7 separate regions of the Homo sapiens genome follow, and regions 1, 3, 4, 5, 6 and 7 are each linked to region 2. The links are contacts of gene promoters, found by promoter capture Hi-C in blood cells and fetal thymus (Javierre and others, 2016). All regions are on one chromosome and are shown on one strand. Each heading gives the region's core, a stretch centred on a gene start or on the middle of the fragment in contact. The rest is flanking DNA. Distances are from core to core; before and after follow the strand shown.

Evidence for each region. The method cuts DNA at HindIII sites, captures the fragments that hold promoters and counts their contacts. A CHiCAGO score of 5 or more calls a contact.
Region 1: a fragment that was not itself captured here is called in contact with the fragment with the promoter of GAR1 in region 2 in 12 of 17 cell types (total B cells, naive B cells, non-activated CD4 T cells and 9 more); the score reaches 13.5 in total B cells.
Region 3: a fragment that was not itself captured here is called in contact with the fragment with the promoter of GAR1 in region 2 in 8 of 17 cell types (total B cells, naive B cells, naive CD4 T cells and 5 more); the score reaches 16.2 in total B cells.
Region 4: a fragment that was not itself captured here is called in contact with the fragment with the promoter of GAR1 in region 2 in 11 of 17 cell types (total B cells, total CD8 T cells, naive B cells and 8 more); the score reaches 13.4 in total B cells.
Region 5: a fragment that was not itself captured here is called in contact with the fragment with the promoter of GAR1 in region 2 in 8 of 17 cell types (total B cells, naive B cells, non-activated CD4 T cells and 5 more); the score reaches 13.3 in total B cells.
Region 6: a contact is called between a fragment that was not itself captured here and the fragment with the promoter of GAR1 in region 2, in 10 of 17 cell types (total B cells, naive B cells, total CD8 T cells and 7 more). The highest score is 14.9, in total B cells.
Region 7: a contact is called between a fragment that was not itself captured here and the fragment with the promoter of GAR1 in region 2, in 3 of 17 cell types (total B cells, naive B cells and total CD8 T cells). The highest score is 6.0, in total B cells.

The regions. Positions count from the first base shown.
Region 1 is chr4:109,529,415-109,532,511 of GRCh38, reverse strand. SEC24B (SEC24 homolog B, COPII component) reads right to left here. Exons shown (of 24, transcript NM_006323.5): 19 at 2,048-2,223; 20 at 990-1,127. Among named protein-coding and RNA genes, the nearest start is that of MCUB, 29 kb to the left of the region's middle. The HindIII fragment of the contact is 3,538 bases long and covers 1-3,097 here.
Region 2 is chr4:109,813,978-109,817,213 of GRCh38, reverse strand. GAR1 (GAR1 ribonucleoprotein) reads right to left here and starts at 1,452. Exons shown (of 7, transcript NM_018983.4): 1 at 1,410-1,452; 2 at 836-1,061. The coding sequence starts at 1,049. GAR1-DT (GAR1 divergent transcript) reads left to right here and starts at 1,832. Exons shown (of 2, transcript NR_186620.1): 1 at 1,832-2,383. RefSeq lists enhancers at 707-776, 947-996, 1,347-1,396, 1,407-1,806, 1,977-2,076. The HindIII fragment of the contact is 3,017 bases long and covers 1-2,367 here.
Region 3 is chr4:109,403,872-109,407,252 of GRCh38, reverse strand. No RefSeq gene overlaps it. Among named protein-coding and RNA genes, the nearest start is that of SEC24B, 28 kb to the left of the region's middle. The HindIII fragment of the contact is 488 bases long and covers 1,499-1,986 here.
Region 4 is chr4:109,471,163-109,474,544 of GRCh38, reverse strand. It overlaps SEC24B (SEC24 homolog B, COPII component), which reads right to left. Exons shown (of 24, transcript NM_006323.5): 3 at 1,359-1,541. Among named protein-coding and RNA genes, the nearest start is that of MIR576, 16 kb to the left of the region's middle. The HindIII fragment of the contact is 920 bases long and covers 948-1,867 here.
Region 5 is chr4:109,507,918-109,511,154 of GRCh38, reverse strand. It overlaps SEC24B (SEC24 homolog B, COPII component), which reads right to left. Exons shown (of 24, transcript NM_006323.5): 8 at 1,044-1,146. Among named protein-coding and RNA genes, the nearest start is that of MIR576, 21 kb to the right of the region's middle. The HindIII fragment of the contact is 851 bases long and covers 1,088-1,938 here.
Region 6 is chr4:109,489,787-109,492,844 of GRCh38, reverse strand. SEC24B (SEC24 homolog B, COPII component) reads right to left here. Exons shown (of 24, transcript NM_006323.5): 5 at 1,438-1,518. Among named protein-coding and RNA genes, the nearest start is that of MIR576, 2.6 kb to the right of the region's middle. The HindIII fragment of the contact is 755 bases long and covers 1,263-2,017 here.
Region 7 is chr4:109,387,576-109,390,589 of GRCh38, reverse strand. No RefSeq gene overlaps it. Among named protein-coding and RNA genes, the nearest start is that of SEC24B, 45 kb to the left of the region's middle. The HindIII fragment of the contact is 1,286 bases long and covers 1,102-2,387 here.

The DNA.
Region 1 (3,097 bases), core at 267-2,766, 280 kb after region 2:
TACTGATTATATGCTACCACCTTGGCTGTAGAATCAACACACTCAAATGTATTCAAATTTAAAAAGTAAAAACATGAATACATAAAATGATCTGTCACATTCCCTTCCCTTTTAGGGTGGGGTCAGAATATATTACAAGTGTGACTACTGGCTCTGTTGCATAGCCAGCTTTTTTTTTTACATTTCTTTGGCAACATAACATTATGTTTGGAATACTAATTCCAAAGAATACAGTTTTCACACAGGGAAGATAAAAGACACTACATATTTGCACATTAAAATTATTATTGGATACCAGATTTGGTTTACTATATAATCAAAATTGCAACTGATCTTATCAAAAGCAGTCAATATTGGCCAGGTGTGGTGGCTCATGCCTGTAAACCCAGCACTTTGGGAAGCCGAGATGGGCAGATCACTTGAGGTCAGGAGTTTGAGGCCAGCCTGGCCAATATGGTGAAACTCTGTCTCTACTAAAAGTACAAAAATTAGCCAGGCGTGGTGGCATGTGCCTGTAATCCCAGCAACTTGGGTGGCTGAAGCAGAATTGCTTGAACCTGGGAGGCAGAAGCTGCAGTGAGCCGAGATCACACCACTGCACTCCAGCCTGGGTGACACAGCAAGATTCTGTCTTTAAAATAAAATTTAAAAAAAAGAAAATAAAGAGAAGCAGTCAATATCTACAAAATATAAATGGAAATGTCCACTCTACAACTTAGCTTTGTAATACATATTATAAGCAAACCTACAAGACAAATTACTTCTGATATGAAACTATTTTTTAAAACTACTTAACCACTGATGGTATTTAAGAGTCCTGCCATCCAATCAGATCCACAGCCAGTGTCCTTATTTAATGTATTACTACCACAAGGGGGAAAAAGAGTTAAAAAGAAAAACCAGTTGATAGTATATTATCATCTTAGCTGTAGAACAAGACACTCAAATATATTCAAATTTAAACATTTCAAATGCACTAAAATACATACCTCATCTGTCAATCTGTCTATCCTGTATAAGTTGGGATGAATCATTTTCATTAGATGAACAAGTGGCTGAGACTTTATCTGACACATGGCATATACACGATCATCCAGCCGTGTGCTTGTACCCGTTCTAAATGCTTTCTACAAGGAAAAAGATAAACGTTTTCAAGTAAAATACAAATATGGTGGACAAATATTAAAACAAATATACACTGTCAATCATGGAAAAAGCATGGCCTTTAAATCAGACAGACCTAGATTCAATTCTCAGCTCTGACATTTAATAGGTATGTGATGCTGGAGCAAGTTACCTAGCTCCTCTGAGCTATACTGTCATCATGAGAAAAATAGGGAAAATAATACCTCTTTAGGTTGTTGAAAGGATTAAATAAAATGATGCATTGACACCTTTTATGGTGCCAGAGACATGGAAAGATGCTTAATATTAGTTCCTGTCCTTAAAGAGTCTCTTTCCAGAGGACATATTAAGAGTGAGCTATGACTGCACCATTATGCAAACTGCTCACACACATTAAAGAAGAGAGAATATGGTTTCACTAAAGTCATCATGTATTTGTATACCTTCATTTTCCACTGATCTTTTCTTTTTTTTTTTTTTTTTTTTTTTTTGAGACGGAGTCTCGCTCTGTTGCCCAGGCTGGGGTGCAGCGGCATGATCTTGGCTCACTGCAACCTCCACCTCCCAGGTTCAGGCAATTCTCCTGCCTCAGCCCCCAGAGTAGCTGGGATTACAGGCGCGTGCCACCAGCTAATTTTTGTATTTTTGGTAGAGGCGGGGTTTCACTATGTTGGCCAGGCTGGTTGCAAACTCCTGGCATCAGCTGATCCGCACACCTCGGCCTCCCAAAGTGCTGGGATTACAGGCGTGAGCCACCATGCATGGCCCCATTGATCTTTTTCTATTCTTCAAAACTCTTTCAATGCTAAAGTGAATAATCCTCTAGTTAAGTATTAGAAAACAACCTAGATTTCCTTTCTTCATGTACATATCTGAGAATTTTAAAAAACAATATTAAATATAGCAATGTATAAAAAGCTACCTGTTTGAGAAGGGCCAAAACATAGAGAGGAAACAACTTGAGGGAGCTGGGCGCCATCAATGCAGAGTGCTGTAAATTTGAGACAGTTGAGCCATATGCAGACAATGAGTCCACTACAGCATTCACTAAGGCATCTCTTGCATCTGACAGACTTGATGAAACGGACCGATCCACAGCTAAAAAGCAACCAAAGTGAAAGGTATTTTAACCATTAGAATCCAATGGGCACTATAAGAGAGAAAATTTATACGCATTATTTAAGAAACAAAATTCAGCTAAGTTTTTAGGATGGAAAAATGCATTTCATCAGCTCCCTCATTTCAAATGTCTTCTTATACATTTTTTTCTGAAATAAATCTGACAATCAGAACAAGTCTAGATTCTTTTGGACATTTTTGTTTTAATCTCTTAAGTCTAAAAACATTTAGCCAGGCTGGACATGGTGGCTCATGCCTGTAATCCCAGCACTTTGGGAGGCCAAGGTGGGAGGATCACTTGAGCCCAGGAGTTCATGACCAGATTAGGCAACATAGTGAGACCTTGTCTCTACAAAAAATAAAAAAATTAGCTGGGCATGGTGGCACGTGCCTGTAGTCCCAGCTATTTGGGAGGCTGAAGTAGGAGGACTGCTTGAGCCTGGGAGGTCGAAGCTGCAGTAACCTGTGATTGTGCACTCTGGCATGGGCGACAGAGCAAGACCCTGTCTACAAACAAACCCCAAAACATGTAGCCCCTATTGATATTAGTGAAATGCATATTTTTCCATTTACTTCTGAAAAAGCCTTGGGAAGGTTTCCATTACTCAAACACCAAGTCACATGTATCATTTTTTTCTGCTCAACCAATGTAATTTCTGCAATCTGAATTATACCTTGTGATCCTCTACAATTTTTGTAAAGCATTCCAAGCCAACAAATTTTTTGAAAGGGAAAAATAAACACAAGTTTTCATGCAGCCATTAAGACACAGGTAACGTGAAACTTATTTTTCTACAATAATATATTCTATTAAAATAGGGATAACCTATAATATATATGCCCAAGCACTAAA
Region 2 (3,236 bases), core at 203-2,702:
CTTTTTTTTCCTCACTGTCACCATCCTGATTCAGGCTCTCAAGGTCTCATGTATGGACTGGTACAACAGCTTGTGGGCTGGGACCTTTTATTCTAGAAACTGCTCCTTTCAAACCATCCTGCATACTCATCCAAGCCATTCTTAGTTAGACACTACTCACCCTCTCTCCTCTTTAATGTAGTAAGTTTCACTTTCTGTGACTTCCATTCCCATCTCATTGTTAATTACTCTAAAACTACCCTAAATAGGTGTTTTTCTAGATTTCCTCTCTGGCAGTTTCCCTCTCAAGCAAATTGTTTTCTCACTTATCTACTTTTGAGTAGTAACAGAAAGCATGGGCTTTGGAGTCAGAATACTTGGCTTTGTATTTCTTTCTTTTCTGTACAGACAGGGTCTCCTGCTTTATTATCCAGGCTGGTCTCTAACTCCCGGCTTCAAAAGATCCTCCCGTCTTAGCTTCCCAAAGTGTTGGGATTACAGGCGTGAGCCACCGCACCCAGCCTGTATTTCAGCTATATCACTAATTGATCACTTATCACTAACCTTATGACCCCAGCAAAAAAACTTAACTCTAAATCATAGTTTTCTCATCTGTAAAATCGGGGAATTAGGCATAAGTACTCACGATTACCTATTTAATATCTTCCTGTCAACCCTCAAGTTCCACCTCCAAGATGCATTCTAAGTATCCCTCAGCTTTCTTGATCTCCCCACTCCACCCTTACATGCTACATTCTCCACACAGGCTTGTGTATCCCAAACTTGCTGCCTAACAACACAAACCCCCAACCCACACCTACTCCTTCAAATAAGCTAAATACTGAAGACTGCATACAGACTACACGTTCTGGAGGTCCTTGGTCTTGGCCTTTGTTAAAGCCTCCGCGGCCACCCCCTCGTCCAAATCCTCCCCTGCCGCCGCCTCTGAAATTGCCGCCGCCTCCACCGCCGCCTCCACCTCGGAAGTGGTTGCTGCTGCCACCTCGGTTGAAGCCGCCACCTCCACCACCTCGATTAAAGCCTCCACGACCTCCGCCTCGAAAAGACATTCTCTCTCCTCCCTGATGAAAAAAAAACGACCTATGTCTTCTGATCACTGTAGCCTCTGAGTATACTCCAACCCCTCGGAGCTGCGGTGAGAACACCATAAAGGAGACAAAAGCAGCCCTGTCACCTCACCCACGGTCAGACAGCCAGTGACCACCAACCTGATGGGTGAAGAGTTTACTTCTCCATGGTCTCGTGAGCGCCGACCGACCACACACCACCCTTGCCGCCCCATGATTAGTATCTCCTCCCCCTACAGACAGCAAGGTCTTCGCACCGCATCCCCTTCCTTCCTCCCTCCCTCCGGCAGTTGGGTTCCACGTCCAGCATTTTCAAATCCTCCGGCTTCTACGGCCACTCACCGGCGCCACGTGCCCCTCTGGCCCTGGCCTTGCGCACACACCCACCCGCGGGGTACTTCCGCCGCGCTGGAACCTCCTCGGTTACCGTACCGCCACAGAGTTTTTTAAAGACCAGAAACTTGAATAACTGGTTTGCCAAAAAAAAAAGCCAATCACCCGCGGAACAAGCAACACTGGTTCCAAAACAGCCTTTAGCGCTGGAAAAGTGGCAATAATAGATAACCTTAACCACTAATTTACAACAGAGAGGCCAACTTGCCTGACGCTGAGCCGTGGAAGTGACGTATAACAGCGGCGTCCTTTGCAGCACGACGTCCCGGAAGTGCTGCGGCAATGTTGCTCTTGGAGATAGCTGGCGTTAGGGATCCGCCTTCTCTCCCAGAGGCGGGGCAGGTTTCTGTTTGGTTGCCGCCCTAACGGCCAGAACTAAAGCACCTTGCAAGGAATGAAGTTGGTTCTTGAAGTCCGTGCTGACTGGCTGGGCGCATTTGCGCATTTGCTTCTCTGGCTGCAAAATGGCCCGCAACAGCACTCACTAATTTGTTGCTAACTTCAGGAACTGTGCGGACAGGTCTCTGAGGCTTCTGAGCCGCGCTATGTCCAGTAGATCTGGGCGCCTCAGAACCTGTCACAGCCGACGGAAGCGTTTATCTGAGTTTCTTGTTTCTTCCCAACCTTTTGATTTTCGCACCATTACGCGCTCAACTATGCCTCTTCTTTTGTCCTATGGTCTCAACTAATTAAAGGAAGAAAAGCAATGCATGTGTGTGTGTAATTTTAAAGAAACTATGCTGTCTTATAGAAAACCAAACCATCATTTTTATCTTTTGTACCAGGTATTCAAGTATGTTTTGAGCACCGACGGGCTGTGAACTGGACTGTGCTGAAAGCTCCTCTCCCTCTTCTCTCTTTAAGCCCTTTATATTTGACATCAGCTTCCCCCACATTCTCCAAAGCTTCTCTCACAAATAAAGGTAATGACTTCCCATTTATTAAATTTGGTTGGAGTCTTTTACACCCAAACCCTCTGAGACCTTACCTTGATATTTGATCTCGTGTTTAGAAGAGGGTGGAACTTGGTACCTATCTAATTCAGAGGGTTATTGTAAATGGGATTTTAAAATACCTTTGTAGGCGGGGCGTGGTGGCTCACGCCTGTAATCCCAGCACTTTGGGAGGCCAAGGCAGATGGATCACTTGAGATCAGGAGTTCGAGACCAGCCTGGCCAATACGGTGAAACCCCTTCTCTACTAAAAATACAAAAATCAGCCGGGCATGGTGGCACACGCCTGTAATCGCAGCTACTCGGGAGGCTGAGGCAGGAGAATCGCTTGAACCCGGGAGGCGGAGGTTGCCGTGAGCCGAGATCACGCCACTGCACTCCAGCCTGGACGACAGAGCAAGGCTTGGTCTCAAAACAAACAAAAAACAAAATAAGTGAGAGAGGAAACTTTACTTGTTCTTTTTCTTTTAGTTTAGTAAATGCTGCAATTTGATTTTAACGAATGTTGGTCTTTTTATGGGCCTATATAAGTGTATTATTTTTGAAACAAAAAATGAAAATTACCTATTTAGTATGAAACCTTTGCTTATCTTTTGCTGTGTATTTGCTCAATTCTGAATTGAACTTGAGATTGTCACACACAGATTGCATTTTCAACTGAAATGAGATGATTTTTGTCTTTACTCTTAAAACTTAGTGAGAAAAAGCTTGCTTGAACAAGAAGTTTTAAAGTATGTCAAAATGTTTATTACTTTCTTAAAAATGTCAAGCTGCTCTTCTTTCTCAGAAATCCAAAACTTGTAGAAGCACAGATCAGGCCAGG
Region 3 (3,381 bases), core at 493-2,992, 410 kb after region 2:
GCCAGGGAGTTGTATGCTGAGTCAGGGAGCATAAATTATTCTGGGACAAAAAGTGGTGTGACTATTAGAACAATGTTAAATACTGTATTATTGCATTTAGATGGCAGCTCTTTATGTTTCTCCATGAATGTGTAAAATCCTTGCTCACACCCTGATTTTAATTGATGTCTGACAAATCCAGACTTACTGTGGCAAAAAAAATGACAATGTTAATATTAGCATAATTTTTCTCTTTGCTAACTGGATTTACATATCAACTCCTGGGATAGCATACATTATTTTTTTCTTTGTGCCTTGATTTAATCACAACAGCAACAATTACCTCTATTAGGCCTCTTTCTATAGATATATAGGAATATGGATGAGGATGAATGGCTTACTCTGAGAATTATTATTACTAAAATCTAAGCATTGGCTTTGCTTCCCTTACAAAGTATACATTAGGAAATAATTAGTATTACATAGTAAATTTGAAGCACAGACTTATATGTATCTTCACACTTATTTTAAAATACTTCTCTTTTATCTTTTCACAATGACTGTGAGGCTGATTATTGTTCTTATATTAGGTGAAATCTGTAACTTCACATGTTGGCTCACCAGAGCAATATTAAGAGAGATAATCATCAGCAATATCCACACAAATTGCATTCCTTAAAGCAAACCAATTGCTTTGAAGGTAAGCGAAATGATTCTTCACGGAGAAGTACCAAAATGTCCACTATGTGGTGCTGCTGTACCTGAATTACACAAGGAGGGTAAAACAGTACACTGTACCCTGAATTACACAAAAGAAGGTAAAGAAGTACACTGTACCCTTAATTACACAAAAGAGGGTAAAGAAGCACAAAGTAATAATAATTTCACCCACAAATTCATTATCATCATTGTTCAAGCAATTGTTATTGGGAAGACAAAGAAGAAAATATGTGATACTGAAATTATTACTATATGATGTAAAAGAAGCTATTTTTTTTCAACTTTGTTTCATATATGGAGAGAAAATTATCTTAGGAGAGAAGCTAATAAGTCAATGTGGGTGTTAATTTTTTGGAAAAACAATCAGAAAGAATACATAAACGGAAATTTTAGGGCATGCAAAAATTATAAATAAAGTCTGTGTGCATCTATATATACATACACACACACACATACACATAGAGAGAGAGACTTTAGCCAATGCTATATTTTAACAATGTTGAAAAACTTTTGGCTAAAATAACAATTATTAATCTGGGAATTTCATAAAAATTTTTTAGCAATCAGAATTTTACCAAATATTTTTCAGAATTTTTTCTGTAGCAATCAGAATTCTGTAGCAAGCCAAGTCATAAAAGAAAAAGAAAACCTTAATTTTGATTTCGACTCAAAATTCAAGCCCTATTTATTTTACTTTCAGGCCTATGGAGTAGCAATAGTTGCCAAAATACTAAACATAAGCTGTAAATTTTATGGACCATGCTTTCATTTACTTTTTAGGATTGAGATGTTGGAAGCTTTAGAATGTTGATTATGATGATACCCAAGACTCAAGTTTAAGAAGGAAAGGAAGCAATAAGATCATGCCTGCTATTAGTATAGTCGTCACAGTTATTGTGTAAAGGTAATGTGAAACAATGCAGAATATTTATGTTTTAACAGTTTCCATTTTATGCGACCTGTGGGGAATGAGAGTTATCCAAACTATATAGGCTGTGCCCCTCTTCCCTCCGAAGCAGCGAAGCCCGCGATGAGAACATTACTGCTGCTCTGGTACTTCCCTCTTATGGAACAAATTTGCAAAGTCTGTGGCAGTGATTCATAGTTCAGGAAAGACACACCTTTCAGAAGCAAAGATGAAGAAAGAAGGATGTTATATGTTTAGTCTTTGCTATTTTTACTCTCTGGTTTTCAGTTAAATTGTGACTTACAATTATTTGGTTATGGTGACCCATTAATTCACCAAACAGAAGCCCTATTTGAGTCAAAGAATCCTGTTTCCAAGCTTAAAAGAAAATGAATCTGTATGTTCTTATACTTTCCCTGTAATATGTTCTGTCATTTTACTAATGCTGAAAGTCTATCCAATAGACCTGGACTCATCACAAATAAAAATTTAGAGTTTCACAGAAATGGGTAAAGAGCAATTAGTATTTTCATTAAGAACTAACAAATATAAAGATCAAATTAGGGTTTTTTTTTCTTGGCCCTTGTTTATAATATGCACTAAAAATTACTATTGTACTTAGGAAGTATTTTTAATATTGAAGTTGACCTAAATTGTACTGAAATACTTGAACCTTCTGGTTGGGTCATATGGTATGGACTGTGTGCCACATAAAAATGCCTTTTATGTATTAATTGTGCCTATATTTCTTTAGCATCTGCCTCTCTCATTGGACTATAGACACCACAAAGACTGTTTTATGTCAACAGTGTCTATATAAATAGGTGCTTAAAATTTTTTGTAGAATCAACTGGCAAATGAATAAATGATGATAAACATTGCTGAATTAAATAAATGAAATATAAGCCAGGGCTAAATTCAACCTTAGTAAACAAATTTGTGAACTGTGAGCCATCCAGACTATTCCTAAGACTGAGTGTAGAAGTCCACTGGTAGGAGACTTCTACCAGTTTACATTTAAGATCTTAAGGAACTTACCATCTTGGTTGTTTCCTAAACTTTCTAGATCCTTAACTTCTACTGCAGAATACAGTTTTTAGCTTTCTTGCTTTCTTTTCTTTCTTTCTTTCTTTCTCTTTCTTTCTTTCTTTCTTTCTTTCTTTCTTTCTTTCTTTCTTTCTTTCTTTCCTTCTTTCTTCTTTCTTTCTTTCCTTCCTTCCTTCCTTCTTTCCTTCCTTCCTTCTTTCCCTCCTTCCTTCTCTCTCTTTCTTCCTTCTCTTTCTTTCTTTCTTTCTTTCTTTCTTTCTTTCTTTCTTTCTTTCTTTCTTTCTTTCTTTCCTCTCTCTCTCTCTCTTTCTCTCCTTCCTTCCTTCTTTCTTTTTTTTTTTCTGGAGTCTCACTCTGTCACCCAGGCTGGAGTGCAGTGGTGAGATCTTGGCTCATTGCAATCTCCGTCTCCCGGGTTCAAGCAATTCTCCTGCCTCAGCCTCCTGGGTAGCTGGGATTACAGGCGTGTGCCACAATGCCTGGCTAATTTTTGTATTTTTAGTAGAGATGGAGTTTTGCCATGTTGGCCAGGCTGGTCTCAAACTCCTGACCTCAAGTGATTCGCCCGTCTCGGCCTCCCAGAGTGTTGGGATTACAGGTGTGAGCCACCGCGCCTGGCCAACACCTTGTTTCCTGACTCTGCTGTTTCATGACAATAAACCCAACATTCAGATAACCAATAGCTGCATAATACTTTCCAATTTCATCTATGATCTCTAGTCTCACTA
Region 4 (3,382 bases), core at 158-2,657, 340 kb after region 2:
GCTGAGACAGGAGAATCGCTGGAACCCAGGAGGCAGAGGCTGCAGTGAGCCAAGATCATGCCACTGCACTCAACCCCGGGTGACAGAGCAAGACTCCCAACTCCAAAAAAAAAAAAAAAACAATAGGAAGAAATAAGCAGCAGGGGCAATGTAATAGGCCAAAAAAAGCGAAACATTTAAGAAATGGAAGGCAGTCATCAATGTAGAGGAAAAACAAGAAAAGACACCATTCATTTAGTTAGGGCTTTGATCTATCCTAAAAGCTTTTTTGATTTGTGATAAACAAAACTTCTACTGGACCTTCACTTTGAAGGCAAATACTTTTAAGAACTAAATTCAGTTTCCAGTATACCCACTGGTTTGTTGAGAATCAACAGGCACTCTTTGGTGCTGCAGTTACTTTTCCTAAAAAACCAAGTAAGAAAATGTGTAATGTATCATCTGATCAATTGACAGAAAGGTCTCTGTTGATCACATAGACACTCAACAGATACAAGCAATGAGATCACCCTAGGAATTTATCATGCTTTTTTCCTTTTCTCAGTTTCAGACCTATAAGAAGGTTCTTCACACTCAACGTTAGGAGCTGTCATTACATAGTGAGTACAGTCCCTAAAATAATACAATGGTTGCTCTGGAAATACAAACTACAGATTCTTGAAAACAGTTCAATCATCTCTGATCAAATAAAAAATGCCATATATTAACCTGAAACATCAATACTTTGGAATTTTAGCCAGACAGGAAAAACAAAAACAAAAACAAAAACTGCCAAAAGAAACAATGTGGGGAAGCAGGGTCAAAACAACACATTTTATTACCTTTTACTTACTTAACACATGGAGAATATTAAACAAACAATAAATCATATAGTTCTTCAATGACGCAAGAGTATGGGTTACAATTTCATTTTCACCCCCTTTCATTTGCAAAATTCTGTCAAAGCTTACTTTCTGTTATCAATAACAAAAAGCACAGAAATAATCAAATAGGATATGGAGAGTCACTAAATAATAAAGTTTTGGCTTCTCTATCCTAAAAGAAACTATAATAACCTTTAAAAAATAGGAAATAAATGTCCCATGACAGAGGAATGAAATAACCATTATACATTGACACAATGAATAATTAGCCATAAAAAGAGCAATAAAGACTCAATATATATGAAGAACTATGTGTAATAAAAAGAAAAGCAAAATACAAAATGGTATGTAATTATGTAAAACATATATGAGACACTGTAAGTTAATATTCCAAAAGTTGTGTTTGGATTGAGATTATAAGTAACTTTTTTTCATATCTTCTATAAATACGTATGTGTGTCTGTGTGCATATACAATAATAAATATCTCAAATACCTTTTTGTTGTAATAGCTCTGATGGCTGTGTAACTGAGGTCACAGGCTCAACTGGGTGATTTGCAGTGGGAGGTGTTCTTGTTGATGAGGATCCTGAGGATCCTGATAAAACAGTGGATACCACTGGGCTGGACTTGGGAGGCTGAACATTTTGCATAACAGGACAGGATAAAGAATCTGCAACTGAAGAGAAGAAACTATTTCATCCACAGAAACTTGAAATATATTAATATATAATATAGTACCACATACAATACTATATATAATGTATATAATATATAATATAATTATATAATAATATATATCACTAACAAAATAGTTTATCTGAAGTTCTTGTAGAAACTTCAATAGCATCACATTTACCTAGTATATCTAGAAAAGGTGGTACAAATGATTTTTTAAAAACTGAAAAATTACTCATCAAATATTTTAATAAACTTTAATGACAATTTTCCTAAAATATTTCGCAATCTTCCTTACCTTCTTAAACAAAGTGAACTCAAAAAGCTTTTATTTACTAATGATCTCTATGAATACTAATTATTGCACAGATTATTGTACTATGCAATGGTGACTCAGGTAAGGAGGTGAGTAAGAGGTTTTTGACTCTGCAATAATGTGGTCTCTGAATTCCATAAACACTTCTAGTATCAGTTCAGATCTCATTTTGCACTGTAAACTGCTACTTCTCATTTGCTGTTTCTAACCAGATGCCTTATTTCACATGTAACTAAGTAAGAGCCTAACCATAATACGAGGTTGAACTTCTGGAATAAAGTGCATGACTCATCATTGGTCTTTGTGATAGCTCAAAATACCAAATGTCTCCTAGAAGGCAAAATCGTTCCCGGTTGAGAAATACTGGGTAAGTTATTGAAGGTAATCTTCAAGATTATCCAACCAAGAGATAACTGAAAAACCTATGGCAAAAGACTACTGGTGAGCAGTCACGATATACTGAATAAATCTACATATATATACCTGCACATGTATGTATGTGTGTCTATGTATAGTGTGTGTGTATATATGTAAACAACCTTAGTTCTGAGACTGAAACAAATAGGAATATGGTGACAAAACAAAATGTGTTATATGTCCTAACAGTGTAAAAACAACATAAGCACATATGAGGAATGGGGAAAGAAGGTAGTCTAAATATGCTGACTGTTTCATCATTTTTAGTAGGAAGACAAACTATCATTGTGGAAGATTAAAAACATCATCACAATATTTTACAGTTCCTTTCATCAATATGGAGTCTATTTTACCACCCTTTGAATCAGAGCAAACCCTGTGACTGGCTTTAATCAACAGTATGTGGCAGAAATAAAAGTGTACAAGTCCCAGACCTCAAGTCTCGAGGGACACTGCAGCTTACACCTTTCCACTCTGAAATGCTGCATGGATCATCATGCAGGGAAGCTGGTCTAGCCACGTACAGAAAAACATAGGAACCCTAGTGAAGAGTCTGCACCAACTGCTAGACATGTGAGTGAAGCCATCTTAGAATCTTCTAGTCCCGCAAACCTCCAGCAAAATGAATTCACATGAGTGAATTCAAGAAAAACCTGCAGAACTACCCAGCAAACCCACAGAACCAAGAAAAATAATAAATCATTGTTATTTTAAACCAGCAATAGATAACTGACATTATCACTAAAACTGCCAACATAAAACAGTGATTAAGAATATTTAACAGTATCCAAGTAAAAACTGAGAAAGATATAATTGTCTAAAATTAGGGTCGGGTGTGGTTGCTCATACCTATAATCCCAGCAGTTTAGGAGGCCAAGGTGGGCAGATTGCTTGAGCCCAGGAGTTTGAGACCAGCCTGGGCAACACGGCAAAACCCTATCTCTACTGAAAAATACAAAAATTAGTCGGGCATGGTGGTGCGCATCTGTGGTCCTCAGCCACTGGTGAGGCTGAGGTGGGAGGATGGCTTGAGCCCAGGAGGAGGAGGTTGCAGTGAGCCAAGATCTTGCCACTGCACTCCAGCCTGGGTGAAAGCGGGAGACCCTGTC
Region 5 (3,237 bases), core at 264-2,763, 310 kb after region 2:
AACTCTCTCATATATATACATATATATAGTATACAATTTCATATATATATGAAATTAACTGTCTTGGTTTATAGATAAGGTTTTCAGAGTATTATAGGTGATTAAAAATATTTACCCAATGAATAAATTCACGGTACTTATCACATATTACAATTTTTTATTTTCTATTCATTTTGATCTTTTCTATACTTCCTGGTAGTAAAGTAAGCTTCACAAGGAAGCTTTTAATTTACCCTTTGTATCTCCAGCTTCCAACGTGACAGGTAGTCAATCAATATTTTTTGGATGAATGACAGCAAAAGAAAACTCAGAACCAGTAAGAAGGGTAGTAAACAACAGTAGTAAAAAAAAGTTTGAGACAGAAATGCAACTTATGAAGTACAAATAAAACAGCCCTGAATAAAATTATTTTTGAAGTTTTCAAAATTTAAAACTTTTAAAACTTTACAAGTTTAAAAATCCCTACTGTTACAAAGGTTATTTGTTGAATTAACAAATTTGTTTAATTTGTTAAGGAACAGGCAGTTTTCCTCTCTAAGTGGACATCACTGTTGGTGTTTCCTTTGTGTTTAATAAAGAACTCCGAAAGTGTATCTACCTTCCAGGGCCATTCCACCTTCCAAAACTACTAATCTTTCAAAATCCAGGACAGACTTCAACACTTATAGAAAACTTTTGCTATTGTATCCACAGGGAATCACTTCTCATACTGTACTCACTACCTAAGTATCTCATAGAATTTGATTAATTACATGTATTAATTATCCTGCACTGTAATTATTTTTACATCTTTGTTCCCTGTTAGATAAGAACTTTTTGGAGGCAACTTCAATGACTTGATCATCTCTGTACTACCAGTGCTTAGTTTAGAGCTTGTCACAAAGCAGGTGTTCAAAAAATGTTTGCCAAGTTGTTATGGAAATGATTATTTCTAACTTCAAATAAAAGAAGATATAGAAAATTCTAAGAAAATATAAAATTTAAGTACCTTGTACATAAGCATACATGTCAGTACCCATAAATATTATAAAATGTTACTTTACCGTTAGGTCTCTGAAGGGATGTAACAACAATCCTAAAGGAAGCTTAGCTTTATTCAGTAAAGCCTGTGTCTGTGGAATATTTGTCAAAGTACACCGAAATGAACTGCAAAAAACATAAACAACATGGAGGATATTAGCTATCAGAGAAAAATACACTGAAGTAGATAAGATAACTAAGAACATTTAAGGACATAAGTGAAAATCATTTGGGCATGTTACTGTAACTGTAAGCAAGAAGGTCCTGATTAATTAGGCATGTATGCAATATATGTCAAAAAATCTAAATTAAAGAGTCAACACTTTCATGGTGGAAAAATAGTACACATTCAGGGAAGACCAACTACTCCATTATGACTAGCCTGAAGGAGATGAATAGGAGCACACAGAAAACATAAGTGAAAAGGCCTACTTTTTTTTTTTTTTTTTTTTTTTTCTGAGATGGAGTCTTGCTCTGTCGCCCAGGCTGGAGTGCAGCAGCCCGATCTCGGCTCACTGCAAGCTCCGCCTCCTGGGTTCACGCCATTCTCCTGCCTCAGCCTCCTGAGTAGCTGGGACTACAGGCGCTTGCCACCATGCCCAGCTAATTTTTTGTATTTTTAGTAGAGACGGGGTTTCACCATGTTAGCCAGGATGGTCTCGATCTCCTGACCTTGTGATCCATCCGCCTGCCTCGGCCTTCCAAAGTGCTAGGATTACAGGCGTGAGCCACTGTGCCTGGCCAAATAACTTATGAAGTTTTAAAGTCAATAAACAAAGAATGAATAAAGGAGATGCCAAAGCAGTAAAAAGCAGAAGTACTGAAAGCCAGGCAAGAAATTTTATGAAGAGTCGTTAATATCATGTAGAGATATCTATTTATTCCAGCCTTAGTGTTGTTCCTTGAACACAAAAAGCTTGTTCCTGCTTCAGGACCTCCATATTTGCCATTCATGCAGGTTGGAACCCTTTTATTCCCAGAGAAGTCATGTGGCTTACTCTCTCACTTCACCCAGATCTCTACTCAAATGTTAAAAGTCTTTGGGTAAACCTGTCCAGACTCTTCTATTTACAAGAGTCACCCTCCACCTGCACTCCTTATTCTGATTTATTTTTCTTCATTGTAATACCCTAAACATTACATTATATATTTACTAGTTTGACTGTTCATCGGAGAATATAAGTTCTGTGATTCCACAGAGATCAGGAACTGTGTTTTGTTCACAACTTTATCCCCAGTACACGGAAAACAGTGCTTTGCATTTAACTTCCAAGGCATTTGATAAATGTTTATTGAATGATTTATTTTAGTATGCTGATACTATTATTATTCCTGTTTTACAGTTGACAAAACTGAGACTTTGAGAGGTTAAATAAATTGCACAGTTTCACAGCTACTTAGGTCTGCTCAACTCTAAAGCCTGTACTCCTAATTATTTGTTATTTTGATAAAAGAGACATTTTCGCAAAACACACATAACTGGGTAGAAAAATGTATGCCTTCCCCTTACCTATGGGTTCTCTTATACATATGCAACATATTTTTTTTTAATAATTTTTTATTTTTTTGAGACAGGGTCTCACTCTGTCACCCAGGCTGGAGTACAGTGTTATGATCTTGGATCGCCACAACTTCCACCTCCTGGGCTCAAAGGATCCTCCCACCTCAGCCTACAGAGTAGCTGGGACCACAGGCACATGGCACTATGCTCAGCTAATTTTTTTGTTTTTTTGGAGGAGAAGGGGTTTCGCCATGTTGTCCAGGCTGGTCACAAACTCCTGGGCTCAAGCGATCCACCTGCCTTGCCTTCCCAAAGTGCTGGAATTACAGCCGTGAGCTACTATGCATGGCCCATACGCTACATTTACCTACGTAGGGGGTACCTAACCTTTTATACTACAAGGTCATAATTTACAAACTTATCAACCTGGTAGCAACTTATATTTGGAAGGATGGGCAGCTGTTTTCAACCTATAATCCATGACACTCTGTATTTTTACGGAAACAATCTTGGCAGTACCTGAGGCACTGATGGTGTGTGGATGGTACAGTGGAAGAAGAGGGGAAATTCTCAAAGCAGCTCCACTTCTTATTTTCTATATTGGAATTCTATATAATATTTTGGTTGAAGAGTGGTTTGCCGCTTTTTTTTTAAAGCTGGAAAACTACTGCTTTAAGAAAAGGGAAATAGGCTGGGCACAGTGGCTCACGCCTGTA
Region 6 (3,058 bases), core at 391-2,890, 320 kb after region 2:
TACTTGGGAGGCTGAAAAGGGAGGATGGCTTGAGCCCAGTAGTACCAGGCTGCAGTGAACCACGATCATGCCACTGCACTCCAATAAACATGAAGGTCTAAATCTTCTCCCCTTCTTCAGGAAAGAATAATATTTCTAGGTTTCTATAGATCTATTCTAGTACCTGACATATAGTAGGCCTACAATTCATTTAACATTACTGCTACAGATGCTCACGTAGTTCTTTAATTTTGGTGTAGTATAAATAGAAAGAAAACTTGTCCAAGGTTACTGAAATACTCTCAACACATAGTTCATTATAAGATTAGAATTCGTTGACTGAATGAATACAAAGAAACCAAAGTCTGACTGCAGGGCCAGAATCTTTCAACTATACTACACTAGACATTTCATTTCACATTAATCTAGAGCTCATGGGATACTATATGGTTGTTCATCTTTTAGTAAATGAAGCAACTCTTCTAGAAGATCTTGATAAGAGATTGTTTTTGGAATGGTTTACAACTTCTTACACACACAGACACACACACACAAAATTCCTAGGGGAAAAATCCTTAACTACAAAAAACTGAGTCGTTTATTCAAGTATTTTTAAAATATTACAAGGGAATTCCATACTGAGCTGAAAAGATTAGTTTTCTACTGATTCATAGAATAGTGATAGCAAGATAGCATGGGTTTTTTTTTTTTTTAAGTATAGAACATTCCAACTTCAATTAAACTTCATCCTGGATCATCAACAAAGAGATAAGAAATAAAAAGAAGGGCAAAACTGCTTTTTCTGTTAGTTTTGAAGCTTGGAATCATTAGGAAAAGAGAGAGAGAGATCAGGTACAGTTGTCAGGTTGTCAGTGATAGGAGACAGGAGGGCAAGAAAAATCACAGTATATTAAAATGAAATGATAGTTTTTTCTTTCAATACTATCTACTCCTGTACTTGAATGTAATGGCTAAAGTGATTTCCAGATATGGTTAAAAGTGATGTCTCCAAAACCTACCCCCAAGTTGAAGGTAGCATCTATTTACCTACTAGAAGCAGCCAGAAGCCATTGAGGGAGCAAAGAGTCAAAGACTATACTCAGAGGCTGGTTGAAAAGAATTCAAATTCAAAGACCTAAGCATGACAATAGAAATATAAAATTTATTTAAGGAGTAGTTATTCTTTAAAAAGAAGGGGAAAGAAGAGAAAGGCTACTGAAAATCTTTTAGAAAAAGATAAAGAGTATTATAACAACAAAAAATAATAGCCCCAGAAACAAGCTTCATAGTTGTTAGTGACAACGCTATTAAGTTGAGGCTGAGAAGTGCCAGAAAAATGTCCTTTTTTTCTTGTTAAAAATATAGCCTGCTATTATGTGTAATACATGTTCACATTTGAAGGCAACTGATGGTCAATAACTTTCAAAATGAAGATCAAGCAAGCACAAAACAAATTACCTGGGTAACTGCCTCCTTCCAGGGCATCATAACTGTTGGGCATTGGAGAAGCACTGCTTGTGGTAGAAGAGCTGTCAACACCTAAAAGGAAAACCAAAATATCTACTAGGTTTAAAATGACAAAGTATCTTAAAGCAGCCTTTGGCAATTTTGAAAAAGATGTTTTTGCGGAACTAGGAAAATTCCTGATTCTAGTAAAAAAGTAAAATGATTGATGTCTAGAGACATTTTAAAAACCAATGAATTTCTGTTAAGAATAGAAGATGAGAGTGGAGAGAATATGAAGCTGATGAGTGGGATAAAATTCAGTTAAACATGTAAAGTATCTTAGAGAAGAACAGATATTAAACTATTAAAACTAGTCAAACACATAAACAAAAACTTTAGGTTGATAGAAATGTTAATATAGTCACATCTTAAGGATTACATCTACCAAATATACTACTAAATATATTTTATCAATATTAGGGTATTTTAAGGTAATTAAATTTTAATGACTTTTATTTATATCATAGCACACTGAGACATTCATAAATGAGGAGTCTGTGGCTTAGGTTGCTATCTGGCATGCTACTAAGCTTTTCTGTGTCTCAGTTTACATATCTGCAGAATAGAGATTAAATAACACCTGCCATATTTAATAAGGTAATATAAATGAAAGGCACACTAATTCATATAAATGTTAGACTATAAGAATTTTCATTATGTGTGCTCATTCAAAACCTGTTAAGATGAGAGTTCAGTGACAATTTATGATGAAATGTGGTCACAGGTCACATGAAAAGAACAAGCAATATACTTCTTCCATTCATTCAACAAATATTTTGAGACCTACAATTATCCTGGGTACGTATGCTAGCGTATATTATGATGAATAAAATAAAAAATCTGCATGATCCTTCTATTATGTTAGAGATCTTGCTTTGTTTCACAGTAAGACAAAATTCTGTGCTACAGAGGTTATCCCTTGCTATTAATACCAGTATTATAACTGGTGTTTAAACTACATTTAGGTTAATTTTCAATTGTAATAGGGAAGGAACAGGTATGCATAATTATTTTTCATTGAATAATTTTAGATGAACATGAGAATCAGGTATACCGACTCAGGGCATAATAGCTGATGTTTTTTGTGTAGGAACATTTTCTTATCAGCAAAGAACATGATTTGGAGGCAAAGACTGCAGTTACATCAACTCCATCATTTACTTGCTATGTAACTTTGTGGTTCTTTTCTCCTAAGAATAAGTGAAGGTAACTTGCTATATAACTCTTCTGCAAAATGCTAACGATTTTTTAAATGTCCTATGTGTGGTTTTTTATGTTCTTATAAGGTCTAAATGAGACAGTGGATATGAAGACACCCATTAAATAAGTAATAGGTAGAAGACACTAATATTTATGCAGTGCCTTCTTCGTGATAAGTAGAACAATTTTGCACATATATTTTTCCTCTTAATAAAGAATGGAAAGTAATGCCCTTTCCTTTGTGTTCCTTTTATTTGTGAATTTTAAACTAAAGCAGAATGCTGATATATCAGGTCAAAAGTCTCCAAATATTCATCAACAGATGAATGGATAAACAAAATATGGTATATCTATAAAATGGGATATTATTTAG
Region 7 (3,014 bases), core at 495-2,994, 430 kb after region 2:
ACCATGTAAACACAGCTTTGAACATGTGAAACTATGATACAGATTCAGTCACTGCCTGAATAGATTTCTCTACTTTCAAGTCCTGTGGAATTGTTCTTCTCTATCCTTCTTTTCCTGTCTAAACAGAAAATTTACCAATTGTATTAGCAGTTATCAGTATGAATCAGCTGCTTTTGAGCCTGATAATTTTCTTGGAAAAATGTTTTCATAGCAATTTGCCCAGCACATGACAATCATAGAATTGCTAATTTGGGAGGAACAGGGAAGGTCACCAGTCCAACCTCCCAGTTGCAGTAGTCATTCCCTATTCAGTTTCTGAGAGATGGCTAACTAGGCTCTAGATCATTCAAAATGATAAAATAAGTCATTCTAAGGAAAAAGGTGAGTTTCTGTATTTTGGGCTTTACAGTCCTTTCTACCTCATTTTAATCATCATTTTCCAGAAACAGAAAATATAAAATGAAAGCAAACTGGACGCTGTATTATAAACATGCACATGGGCATGCACACCCTCACAGATGCTTAAAATATTAATTAAAAGTCTGGTGGTGAGACTGCTGAGCCTGATAATGAGGACTGGACATTTTACAAACAGCAGTCATGTGCTAGATGCAATGGCATCTCACAGCCAGGTGTGATTTGTGTGCTCTAGCAGGGAGCTCTCAATCATAAGCCACACAGTGGTTCAGTCTCCTGGTATCTTTATTTCAGAAAGAGCCAGCAGGTGACAGGAAAGCTGTAACAGCTGAAAATAGAACCAGATATGATAGAAAGTAGAAGTAGATTTTTTGTGGCATATTGTAAGCTTTATTTCTTGGTAGTCTTATATAGTAGGAAATTTTGTTTTCTGCCTGTCTTTTTTATCTGTCCCTTGGGGAGACACTTTGATGATCAGTCCTGGTCTCATATTGAGCCTTCCAGCCAAAGACTACTGCTCATGTTGGGCTGCAGTTCCTGCTAGTGCCTCATTTCACACACGGATTGGTGTGTGAGGTGGAGGAATGACCCCGGAGAGCCGGGAGAGAACAGCTGTCTGCCACATAGCAAACAGGGACGGCTGCGATCAAGGCCAAGCTGAAACACATGGCGGGCTGCAAAGCTTTCAGAGCTGCTGAAAATTGAATCCTTCCTTCTAGCTCCTGACCCTATCAAATCACAATGCAGGAGTTACTCTTAAGAAATTAGAGTTCCTAATTTTTATTTTACTCCACACATTTGCTTCTGATTTTACTCATGGTAACCAAAAGAAGACCTAAAAAGCAAAGAGATTAATGTTTTGAGAGGTTGAGAGCAAATGTCTCTACTGAAACCTCACTTGTGCTAACCAATAGGCACTCACAGAGTTCAGTTCTGTTTTCCACAGCTTGAGTCTCTCAGTGCCAACCTTTTGAATGAATGCTGTTACGCTATCTATTACTAACCATTGAGCCTACCTTATGGTTACTGTTTATTATATACCAGTGGGTCATAAAAATGAAAGATTAAGGTCACTATATGTTTATTTGCCATTGGAGATGACTTTAAAAAAACAAATTCAGTGGCTGCAGAAATGAAGTGTTTAGTCATTCCTGAGCACTCATGTGGCCAGAGCAGCCTGTTTACCAGGTTTTAGACACTGACTGCTTTCAGGACTCAAGAAATTCTAGCAATTAATGCTTGTTTAGGGTTGTTCCACCTACTTAGCAGGGCGATTCTACCCATCAGCCACGGTTTATTGACAATCCTTTATGTGCCAGACACTCTACTAGGTACTTTGGAGAATTACAAAAGAAGAAGGCACACATTAAATTGTAAACTCCTCAAGAGGAATTCAACCAGAGAAACATAAATAAATAGATACCTGTAAATGTGAGTGACAAAATAAAAATCAGTTCTATTCCCTTGAGTGTACTCGGTGCCTTTAGTAATAGATGTGTTACTCCCATACCATGGGCACTAGGAACAGATACTTTTAGGAGTTCAGGAAATAAAAATCTTGTGTTTTTTCTCTCTTGTCCCCAGAATGGTAACTGTAATGCCATAGTTTCACAGTTCGTAATTAGTAAAGTATGCAACACAGTTTTGACTGAAAAACAGCAATGTTCTCAAGTATCAGAAATGATGCTTGAATTTGGCAAAGTAGTCAGTCCCAATTATGTAGTGAACATGCTCTTTTTTGGAACTAAATGGCTAGGAAAGCATGTGTGGGGTTCTGAGGATAGACTTTGTGATGCCACGGATCTAAACTAGGCTTGTCAATTTAGTTAATTCACTTAAGAAACACTGATTGAATGCCAACTACCTGCCCAATTCTGTTTTAGATTTGCAGGATTTAAAAATGAATAACAGAGAGGACTTTTTCTCAATGAGTTCATAGTATGGGTGTATATGGGTGAAGGGGAGAAGCTTGGGTGGAGTGCAAGTAAGCAGAAAATTGTATTACCTTATGGCAATTGCTATAGTGATTTTTATTTTCTACTGTGATTTTGTAGTGGGGTTCAGAAGGTTGGCAGCTGGCTTTTGGATTAACACCTCTAGTAAAGTAAAGGAAAATCTATAGGTACTTAAAAATCAAATCAAAATTATTGACAGGCTCAGGGAAAATGCCGGCTTCAGCCCTGAGTGGCCACAGTCCCTCTAATAAATTCCAGTCTTCTTTATGGAATTGGTTAACCCCTTTATTAAGACCTCTCTTGCTTATTTGTCTTCTTGTATTGATATTTGGACCCTGTATACACAATACTATACCTCAAATTGTTTCTTCTCGCCTAGAAGCAAACTCCAAATGGTTCTGTAAACTAACTACACATGGACATGCCATTCTTCGGAGGACCCTTAGATCCACCCTAGGAGGAGCCCTAGCTGCTGTTCCCCATTTGATGCCCCTTTTCAGCAGGAAGTAGCCAGAAGGAGTCGTTGCCCAAAACCCCCTAACAGCAGTTAGTGTGGCATCTCCACATGGGGGAATGTTGTAGGAGTTATTAAGAAATTATTTTAGGCAGATAGACAGGAAAAGGGGTCCTTGGGAAGTTTTC